Linked DNA regions of Homo sapiens: regions 2 and 3 are each linked to region 1. Evidence: promoter capture Hi-C in human tissues and cell types (Jung and others, 2019). All regions are on one chromosome and are shown on one strand. Each heading gives the region's core, a stretch centred on a gene start or on the middle of the fragment in contact. The rest is flanking DNA. Distances are from core to core; before and after follow the strand shown.

The links. The method cuts DNA at HindIII sites, captures the fragments that hold promoters and counts their contacts. A contact is called where the count stands out against the background at its distance.
Region 2: a fragment that was not itself captured here is called in contact with the fragment with the promoter of NPFFR2 in region 1 in 2 of the 25 tissues and cell types used here (mesendoderm cells and thymus).
Region 3: a fragment that was not itself captured here is called in contact with the fragment with the promoter of NPFFR2 in region 1 in 2 of the 25 tissues and cell types used here (heart right ventricle and small bowel).

The regions. Positions count from the first base shown.
Region 1 is chr4:72,030,318-72,033,740 of GRCh38, forward strand. NPFFR2 (neuropeptide FF receptor 2) reads left to right here and starts at 1,683. Exons shown (of 4, transcript NM_004885.3): 1 at 1,683-1,883. RefSeq lists an enhancer at 1,292-1,894. The HindIII fragment of the contact is 5,305 bases long and covers 1-3,423 here.
Region 2 is chr4:71,974,239-71,977,661 of GRCh38, forward strand. No RefSeq gene overlaps it. Among named protein-coding and RNA genes, the nearest start is that of NPFFR2, 56 kb to the right of the region's middle. The HindIII fragment of the contact is 5,388 bases long and covers 1-3,423 here.
Region 3 is chr4:72,084,754-72,088,176 of GRCh38, forward strand. The region is part of intron 1 of NPFFR2 (neuropeptide FF receptor 2); the gene reads left to right. Among named protein-coding and RNA genes, the nearest start is that of NPFFR2, 54 kb to the left of the region's middle. The HindIII fragment of the contact is 5,357 bases long and covers 1-3,423 here.

The DNA.
Region 1 (3,423 bases), core at 433-2,932:
AGAAAGACAAGCTCCTCTATTAAAACCAGTTATAGCAAAGAATGATGAATGAATGCATGGAAGTTAAAGCAGGGTGTGTAGGTGTTTACAGGAGAAGTACTCAGGGAAAGGTGCATATCAGGTCCTTCCCTAGTTTTATATAATTTTCTCCTGCTTATGGATATAGTCTACTGTTTTTAGTGGTGGTGGAATGGTAGGGGTGGGGAGCAGGAGAATAGTTCTTGCAGTGTGTTGTTTCATGATACAGAAATGGAATCATAGTTTAAATGATTGTTACATAAGTTTCATATTTCTTTTAATTTGTAATAGAATCCTAGCAAGCTGGACATTACCTCACTGTCTCATCAAAAGCGTTGCTATTGCTTTCATTCTTTTTAATGACTTATTTTTCCAGTGGTATGAGGTACTGTGTAGAGCAATGAATCACAATTATTTTTGCACTTTGATTTGAGAATTTCAGGTTGAATACAAAATGCTTTTCTCTTCTTAGTTTTATTTTACCCAACTAACTTATTATTCTATCCTATGACTCCTGTGTTATCTCTTTAACGTCTTTTTCTTTTCTATGACTTTCTGTGCCTTGAGTATCCTGATAAACTTTAGAGAAGTGGGACCAGTATCCTTACCTTGAACTTGGTAAAGTCTTGGGAGAAATACGCCTCAATTTAGTCATTAAACACACACACCACACACACACACTTGTCAAAATCTGCAACTTTAATCCAAGACCAAGGAATCCTACTTTAAAAGGTCTGTCTCACCATAGGCTTTTTTTCTGTATTCCACGTGTACCAGTGATATAGGCAGAGAAATGTAGCAGATAAAGAAATGAATTTGGCTTCTGGAGCTTTTCTTTCATTTAAATACCACCTCTGTAATCTTAGACAAGTCACTAAACCTTGGTGCCTCTGTGTGAATTGGAAATAATTATATATCAACTCTTCACAAACCTAGAGTGCTATCGTGAGGATTAGGTCTAAAAGGCTCCTCACAGGTTTCTCATGCTTAAAGCACCTTTAATTATCCCTTTCTTAGTAATTGTATAAATCTCTAAGTTAATCCATTAAAGTCTAGTCATCATCTCTCTATTAGCAAGACCCAACTGGGCAGATAGTGTTGTTAGGATCATTGTGAGTCTCCCCAGGGTTCTTCCCCTTCCATTTCTGATTATGCTGTGAATATATTTCCAGAATTTCAGAGGGGTTTGCTTGCAAGCTAAAAGATCTTTGCAAAGGCTCAAAAAATACGGTCTGCTTCAGACAGAGAGAGGGTTTGCAATATGCGATGAATCTCTCAGTCCCATTAGAACCTTAAAGATGATGATAGCTCACATTTAATGTAATGATTAATGTGTACCAGGACCATTCCAGGCACTTTTGCATGTAGACAAATAATTCTCAGATTACTTACTGATTAATATCATCATCATCTCTATTTTACAAACGAGGAAACTGAGGCACAGAGAGGCTAAATCACTTGCCCAGGATCTGGAGCCAAGTAATGGTGATACTGATGCTTCCTTTTCTTTGCCGCGCTCGGATTCTGAGTTTCACAAGAATGTACCTGGGTGCCCCTTAGCGGGATATGAATAGCTTCTTCGGAACCCCAGCGGCCAGCTGGTGCCTCCTGGAAAGTGACGTCTCATCTGCACCGGACAAGGAGGCGGGGAGGGAGCGCAGAGCACTCAGCGTCCAGCAGCGCGGCGGGCCAGCCTGGAGCGGAAGCCTGGAGTGGAGCAGGCAGTCCGCGGGGGACAGACGTCGGCTGGGATTGAGCCGGCAGACTGCGAAAAGTAGCTGGAGCCGGAGCAGGGACAGAACCTGTTGCTGCAGACGGGCTTGGTGGATTCTGGTTCCTGCCGCCGACAGGGCTCGCCGGGAGAGGTAACAGCATGGGCCAGTTTGTCTGGGGGCCCCCGCTTGGGGGCGCGACCCCTCTCTAATGCCCAACGCTTGCCTTGATGACACATATTAGCGATTGTGGACCGACACCTTGGATTTTTCAAATCCCTTCCTAATTACACAGGCACCCGCTTGGTCACTGGCCCAACACTGGGGGGCTTCTCTGCCCTGGATGTCTGCACCACAGATGGCTGTGGCCCCAGGCTTGCAGAGCAGGGACCTGGTCAAGGGATGTGGGGCGCTTTCTTCACCTTAAAGTTCCCCCCAAGCCCTCTCCGGGGCTGTATTGTGTTGTAACTTTGTTGAATTTCCTTAGCGGGTCTGAAGCTAGCGAGTTTCTAAACTGTTTTTATCCGTGATGCTTCTAAGCAATGATCTTTGTGTATCTGAGGCTTCATCTTGTGCATTTCCACTTGCTAGAAAAGCTGAAATCAGGTTTCTGAGCTGCGTACAGGACACCAGAGTCCTTATTGAAGGCGTTTGGAGAGGTTTTATCCCCTTCTGGGAGTGAGATAGGGTTTCCAGACAATACCATTTTAGTTCTTCTGTCAAACCATCAGGCATTTTCCAACAGTGCCGCCCTAGGTCAAATTTAGGGTCTGGAGGAGAGGAAAATGATCTTCTTCAAGCTGTCGTTCTAGTTAAAGACAGAACTACTAACTAAAAACCAAAAATACATTTGTTCATCTCCCATTTCCCCTCAGCTATAGTGTAGATATTTGAAATATTTATTTCTTTTTAAAAAATCTTAATGATAACATGAATTATACAAAGATGCTGGTTTCCTTTTTTTAATCCAAATATTCAAAGTTGTTTTAAACATATGTCTAAATTTCTAATTCCATTCACATCCAAATAACTTTCAAGTGGGAACTACTAATGAGAGGAAGGATGGAAAAATCAATGGTTTGTAAACTGTGAAGGACATATTTTTGTTTCCATCTGGATTTCTAATTAAACCATAATAAATTGAGTAAAATTATCATAATAATGATGAATCTAAGTTATGGATGAATTTGCAAAATGGCTATAATGTGCTCAAAAATAGTGCCATTATCATCAACAGAATGGCAATTGTATGCAGAGTTCAATTAGAGTCTTTCATCTGTTAAAAACTTCTATAGATCGATCATTTAATAAAACAGTGATGCAATATAGTGCAGTAACAGTACCTACTGCACTATATTTAAAGGCACATATTAACATTACAGACTGGCTATTGTAATAATAAAAAAATGTGCTTTCTTTATTGCTTGAAAATAACATGTTACTCATATATCATTATCCTATTCTTTTTCTCAATATGTGTTTTTCCAAAATCCATACACCCCAATAAGATCTTTCTACTAGCCATGATTTCTTCATGTCTATAGAAAACTTCAGAGCATTTGAGGCTTAAGCTTATTTTTGCTTCATCTATCTGTTTGTCTGTTTCATCTGGCAGTTTTATTCTTGGTGCATTTTGTGAACACATTACAAAGTATCTAAAATTATATATTAGAAATTCATTGTTTTATTTGTA
Region 2 (3,423 bases), core at 353-2,852, 56 kb before region 1:
TCTTTCACGTTCTTTCCCCAGAATTCAAGTACATTACTTTTGCCATCTTATAAACCTGTCACTTAGTAAATCTCATTCTTTGGAGATAATACTTGGGTATAAGAGAAAAGAGTGAGTTCAATGTTTTATCACTTCTGCTCAAATAGTATTTGCTTTGAAACAGGCATGAGAAACATATCCTAAGATATAACCCCAGTGGGAGCCTGAAACCACAGACAGTACTGAACCCAATTGCTGTTAATCGATACATGTTTCTGTTCATGTCTTCCACCCACAAATATAATGCCTTTTCCTTAAGCACTCATCATGCACTCTGGCCATAACTTCTGCAGTTTGAAGTGTGACAGCAAAACTTGCATACAATTTTTTTTCCTTTTTCACAATTTTGTGGATAGAAGATTTGTTCTGACAGATCTTAGCAACCCCAGCATATTACTTATTAAATTGAGAACTTTCACCTTAACACTTTAAGGAAGGACTTTAAGGGTTCTCTTTGGCGTATCTGAATTGCCAGCATCACTATTTTTTCTGCTTTGTGGCCATTATTAAGTCAAATAAAGGTTACTTGAGCACAAGCACTGCGGTACCTTGAAAGCTGATCTGATAATAGAGCCAGCGAGTAAGTGGCTAAGAGGCAGAGAGCATTGACAGAGTGGAGATGCTGGTCAAAGGGATGATTCACGTCCCTGGAATGGAACAGAATGGTGTGAGATTTCATCACACTACTCAGAATAGCATGTAATTTAAAATTTATCTTCTTTCTTGGATAGAAATAAGCCACAAATAATAAACTAAATAACAAAAAAAGGAAAAAAAAGCCTATGAATTGTTTATTTCTGGAATTTTTCATTTAATATTTTTAGACTAGGGTTGACCATGGCTAACTGAAACCTTGGAGAGAAAAACCATGGATAAGGGGGAAGTATTGTATTAGTTTCAAGAATCTAAAAGAAAGGAAGGGGAAGCAAAAAGTTAATATTTATGATATTACTTGTTCTGGAATGACCAATGAAAAAAGGTAAAATCAACTGGCAGATTGGTTGCTTAGTGGTCCTTCCAGGGTAGAAGATTTCTAGAATGCATTAACATGTGGTACCAAACTTTTGATACTTGTGCACATTACCATGTTTCCACCACTAGGCTCTCCCCCACAACTCTTTGTCTCCAATCTTTCCGGCTTTTCCTTCCAGGTTTCTGACCAGCTGGCCAGGACTCTTGTCACTGTCCAGGAATCCATTTACATTTTCACCTCTGGATACTTTTCTTTCCACACAAAGTGGGTACCAGGTGCACCCCTAACAGATCCTCATCATATGACAAAATGTCCTTGACAGCTATTAAATGAATTCACGCAGGCCTCACTTTAGAATGTAGCAAACATTAAAAAAAATTATTGAATGAAATAATGAATACATGAATGATTGGGCCCATAAGAATAAGAAAATTTCAACTAATTTTGAATTAACTCTTAACAAATATAGCCAGATTTCAGGAGTAAAATGAGCTTTTAGAAGATACAGATTTAATATTTCCTGGATACTATTATTATACTTTTCCATAATAATACTTACTAAATGATGGGAAAATACACAATTTGGAAAATTTAAGTATTCATTAGCTTTATTTCTTTCATCTAGACTTTTACCTGAATTTACAAGATACACATAAATTTCCCAAATTCATTTGTTTTCCATCACAATGTTACTCGGCTCAAGTGTACTTTCATGCTTTGGTTTACTTTCCTAGAATTCTCTCTTTTCTAGTTATATTCATTAAAGATTGAGGATACTCTTCGTTAATATAACCCCTGCCATGAAGCTCTGTCCACTAAAAAACCCAATGAGTTTCACTTCTATTTGTATTCTTAGAGCATTTTACCATTTAACTGTGTGTTATCTTGAAATTTATTTTTTACATAATTTAGAAGGCTTTGTCCATCCCAAGCTGTAAGCTCTTCGAAAGCAGGAATTATGATTTCTTCTCATTATATATACTTCCTGAGTCTGGAAAAGTGCCCGGGAGAGTAAATGCTCAATAAACACTCATCACAAAACAAACACTCATTTTCTGTATGTTTCTCTTTTCTGGAATAATTTTTTTACCTGAATATCTTAGAAATTAAAGATGCTACTTCTGTTGCTGTAATATAAGCCCATTTATCACTGTAGAAGATGAAAATAATTATTTTCCTTTTATAAAGCCATATGAATTGGTAATGTGTGGTAATGTCCTTTCAGAATAACAATTTCAGCAGAGTATTATTAAATTTAATTAATGTAAAAATAATTCTCTGGTCTCAGAAGCATACTTGCAATAATCATCATTCTAAGCTTTAAAAATTCTACTTTATTCTAAGATGACAATGTTAATATGTTTTATTACAATCTAGTGATTCCCTTGGGCCCAGAACATGTTGAATATTTTATAACACTTTAGCTTTCTAACCTGTAAACAAATAAAATATGTTCAATTCCCTAGGGAGACATTTTATTTCTGAAGTTTATGAACCTCTCTCTGTCTTTTCCTCAGGGCTGACAGCATTTAAGTGGCTGGTCTTATATAATTTATAATGTGGAAGAATTTACTGGATAAGGGGATTCAAAGTGATTATTTGTTTGTTCAAGAAATATATATATTTTAAGTTGCAACACTCTGCTGGGTGTTGAAAGTAAATACATGGACCTTGCTTTCTGGGAGCTTACAATTTATAAGGGATGAGATATGTCTAAATAAGATCAAAACTGGTGATTTAAATCACATGTGACTGATGTAAAAAATTTCATAGTCATACAGAAGCAGGAAGATTATTTCTAGTTTTATTGATCACTGAAGATTTCATGGAAGTGGTGGCTGCTCATTGGGAATTGAGTAAAATGTACATAACTGTAGAGAAAAAGAAAACTCCTGCCCAGGGATTGAACTGTGACAACAGATGCATGGCATTGTAAAGGAGATACTTTAATGAGGTTTAACTGGCAACAAATTGAAGACTGTGGCAGGATGCAGTAGCTCACGCCTGTAATCCCAGCATTTTGGGAGGCCGAGGGGGTGGATCACCTGAGGTCAGGAGTTCAAGACCAGCCTGACCAACATGGAGAATCCCGTCTCTACTAAGAATACAAAATTAGCTGGGCGTGGTGGCGCATGCCTGTAATCCCAGCTACTCGGGAGGTGAGGCAGGAGAATCGCTTGAACCCAGGAGGCACAAGTTGTAGTGAGCCGAGATCCGCCATTGCACTCCAGCCTGGGCAATAAGAATAAAACTCCATCTCAAAAAAAAAAAAGACTGTATCAGTAAAGGTGGTTTGTAAATACAACTATTATGTTAAATAAGGAGGAAGCAGCAGGAATAGAAGTGATGGACTGAGCCTCTACACTAGAATTAGAATTCACCATTGAATGGACATAGTTGTTGACAGAGAA
Region 3 (3,423 bases), core at 234-2,733, 54 kb after region 1:
GAATGCCTTAAGGGTGTCTGGAGTCAGTAGATAAATGCCCTGGCCACAGGTCATGATTTCCACATATTTACTCAGAGAGCTCTTTTCGCCCACAGCACTAGGCAGCTGGAAAACTGGACTTTATTGAGTTTTCTTCTTTCACTTTCTCATTTACCCTGTTCACTCACTCTTGCTTCCTGTAATTGCCTCCCAAATATGGCATCCAAGTCCTTGTTTTAGACTCTGCATTAGGTGGAATCCAAAAATTACAGACAATCATGCTGTTCTTTATTCGAGAACTATTAGTTGAGAATAATGTGCTTAAAAAAAAAGTCATTAAGACATTTCATAAAATAATGGTAAATCTTCTAAGAGTAAAACTAGAAATGTATGGGATGAAAAGACAGATACCAACAAATGTTAATACTAGTTAGTACTATTTTCCACATTCTTCAGCCCATATTAGTTTTTTTGGTAGCTATTTCAACTGACATGAGGTGGCTCTCAGCTGAACATGGAGTTATTGTTTGCTCTCAGTTTCGTATCTTATATAATAGCAGTGTCAAAATCCTGTGAAATCTGAGCAATCTTCAGCTGTGAAGGACAAGGGAAGAAAGTCTTTTGAGACAAAGGGCTCGTAACTTGGATTCTTGTTTTTTATATGTATATTTTGCATTTCAAGCTTCAGCCACAAGCTTTTTTTTCCCCAGCATATATTTTATGTTTTTTCTCTTTCTCTTACATGCCTTAATCTACTTCTTCTTTTGTTCAACTAAATGTATGCCATGTTGAGATCCTCATAGCATAAAACCTTTCATTTCAGAGTTGTTTCTGCATAATTGCCTAGGCAAATGGTATTCTACCATTAAATTGTTTCACTTTTTATTGACATCATTACTGATTAAGGAGGACAACTAAATTATGTTAGGTTCAATTAAGTAGGCTGATGGGACAATCCAGATGTAAAGAAATGCTAGTTATGTAATTTTTAAAAAAGCCTCTGAACCCTCCTACACTGACTACATTTCCATCCCACTCTTCAGCACATGATTTTTTTACAGCAAACTAAAGTTTTTAAATGAAACTAATGGTTAAAAATTAAATTATCTTTTTGGTAAGTCCTAAAAGTACAAGTTTAGTGTATATACATATTGTCACAGCAAGCCAAAATCTAAGAAGAAACAATGGAGGGAAAACATGGATTTCTTTGTCTTATAAACTGGAAGAGAGCAGGTGCTTTGTCTGATTTGCTTGATACATACCAAGAAGATGCTCAATAATGATCACTCGTTATCAATGTGCCATTGGTTATCACATCACAAGGTTATTATGAGCATTCTTTATATTAAATAATGGATAGAAGATTACTAAATACCAAGCACATTGTAAGTGTAAAATAAATGTGTTTTCCTTGGTATGCCCTATTCTCATTTGTTGATTAATGCAGCAATCATTGCTTTATATTGAAGGTTGAAAATAAATTTAAATAAATAGTCTGTGAACTAGCGAAGTCCATAAAAAAAGGTTTAGATCCTTGTTGTTTTGCAGTGTGGTAATGGTTTCAGCTTTCTTAAGCTCTCCTAAGTAGGTAGCAGTCATCTTACGTAGATAGCAGTCTGATGGACCAGAACATGGATATCACTAATAACTCTGTATTTCTGTCTCACTGTAAGCAGGCTACGTTATTTTCAGCTATTTTTGCCACCTATAGTGCTCTATTTAGAACCTCTTAGAATGTAAGCTAGCAAACTGACAATTAAAAATTAGGTCTTAATTAAGTAAGGGTCTTGTGAAAATTTAGTTATTAAATATGTAATTTATATGTTTATTCTGATTTTCTTGATGATTATAAGGAAATAACTATATGTCTATTCACTTCAGTATTTTTAACTAGTTAACAGAGAAAAAAGTTGAAATTAATGATTTACATTAGTTAGTTCTGTTTAGTATCCAGAATACTTTAAAATCTCATTAACCATATTGTATGCTATCCTTCAATAATGGATCCCCTTAAATAAAAAATATTTTGGAACAGTTGATTGCTAATGCAGAATAAATAGTAAAACAATTGTTGGTAGAGATTGAGCTCCATATAAATGTAAGATGACACCATGTTTAATAAAGAGTTATGCATCCCATGGGAACACAAAAATATATTTCCTAGATTACTGAACTGTTGATAAACTATGATATGCACATTTAATAATAATAAAGTTAGTAAGTATTTTGTCAAGTCTGTAATATCTGCATAAACATTCTGACAGAGAAATTGGGAGAGAAAAAGAAAATAAAGCCTTTATTTTCACATTTAGCATTAGAAGAGTGGTAGACTCCACCAGAAATACCAACTTGGGTTGAAAGAGACCATTTTGCGCTAAGCTTATATTGATGATGTACGTATTTTGGTGTGAGGATTTTGCCTTGAAGGTACATGCCAGCTCGTAGGAGTTCGATTTAACATTCACCTCTAAGCACTGAAAAATCTGGGTTATGGTCAACGCAGCAGCTTGCTACAAATAAAATTAAGACTCACCTGAGATTCTATGAATTGCTTTACTAAAAGCCTGGTTGTTTAACATTGTTGCTAAAGTTCTGGGAAGAAAATCCAAACACAACATATAAAAATAAATTTCCATGGCTCCTACTGTTTCCTTTGGAAAGGCAGATAATACAATTCTTATTGCCTTTTATTTACAGATATTGTTACAGGAAAGATAGATTTGACTAAAAATGTCATCTAGGAAAATTTTAACCAAAATTAGAAATTTTGCTAGTGATCTGGGTTGCTAAGAATCTAAGCATTAATACATGATGGTCTTGTGTAGGTAATCTTCTTCAGTTGTGATGGATGAGAGCCCCTGTATAGGATGGGGAAGGAAAGAATTCAGAGAAATAAGCTAATATCTGAGTAATAAATTTAACAGAAATTTGAGAATGTCCCTAGATAAGGCTGAAGATAAAGGAGAACTTTGCTGCTTTTTAGAAAGGAGTGGTCAGGACTGATGGAAGAAGGGAGAAAATGGAAGGGACTGGAGAGTGTGAGAACGGTTCCCACAGGCTGAGATTAAGGAAATTAACTTTTCCCTTGAAGAAAACATTTTTTTCATGGTAGCAATGACAGAAGAACTTTGTGAAAAATGTTATCTAAAGTCCAATTTAAGGCTGTTTCATTTCTGGTTCTGCTGCATTTTTCTGGCATCATCCCCCCAAAAATAGCCATGCAAAAGTGTACCTTGAAAATTAAATGGGAGGTCAAGAAAGCCAAAGAGGGGAGAATTTAGTGAGAGCCAGAACCTGGGACCAGAAGAGAGACCAAATACCTCTTTTCACTACTTAATTTCCTCAAATTCCGAGAGAGAGAGAACTGGATTTATCACAGTCCACTGGGTAGGATAATAGCGACTTAAAATAGACATTAACAAAAAGGCTTATCTCAGAAGTATA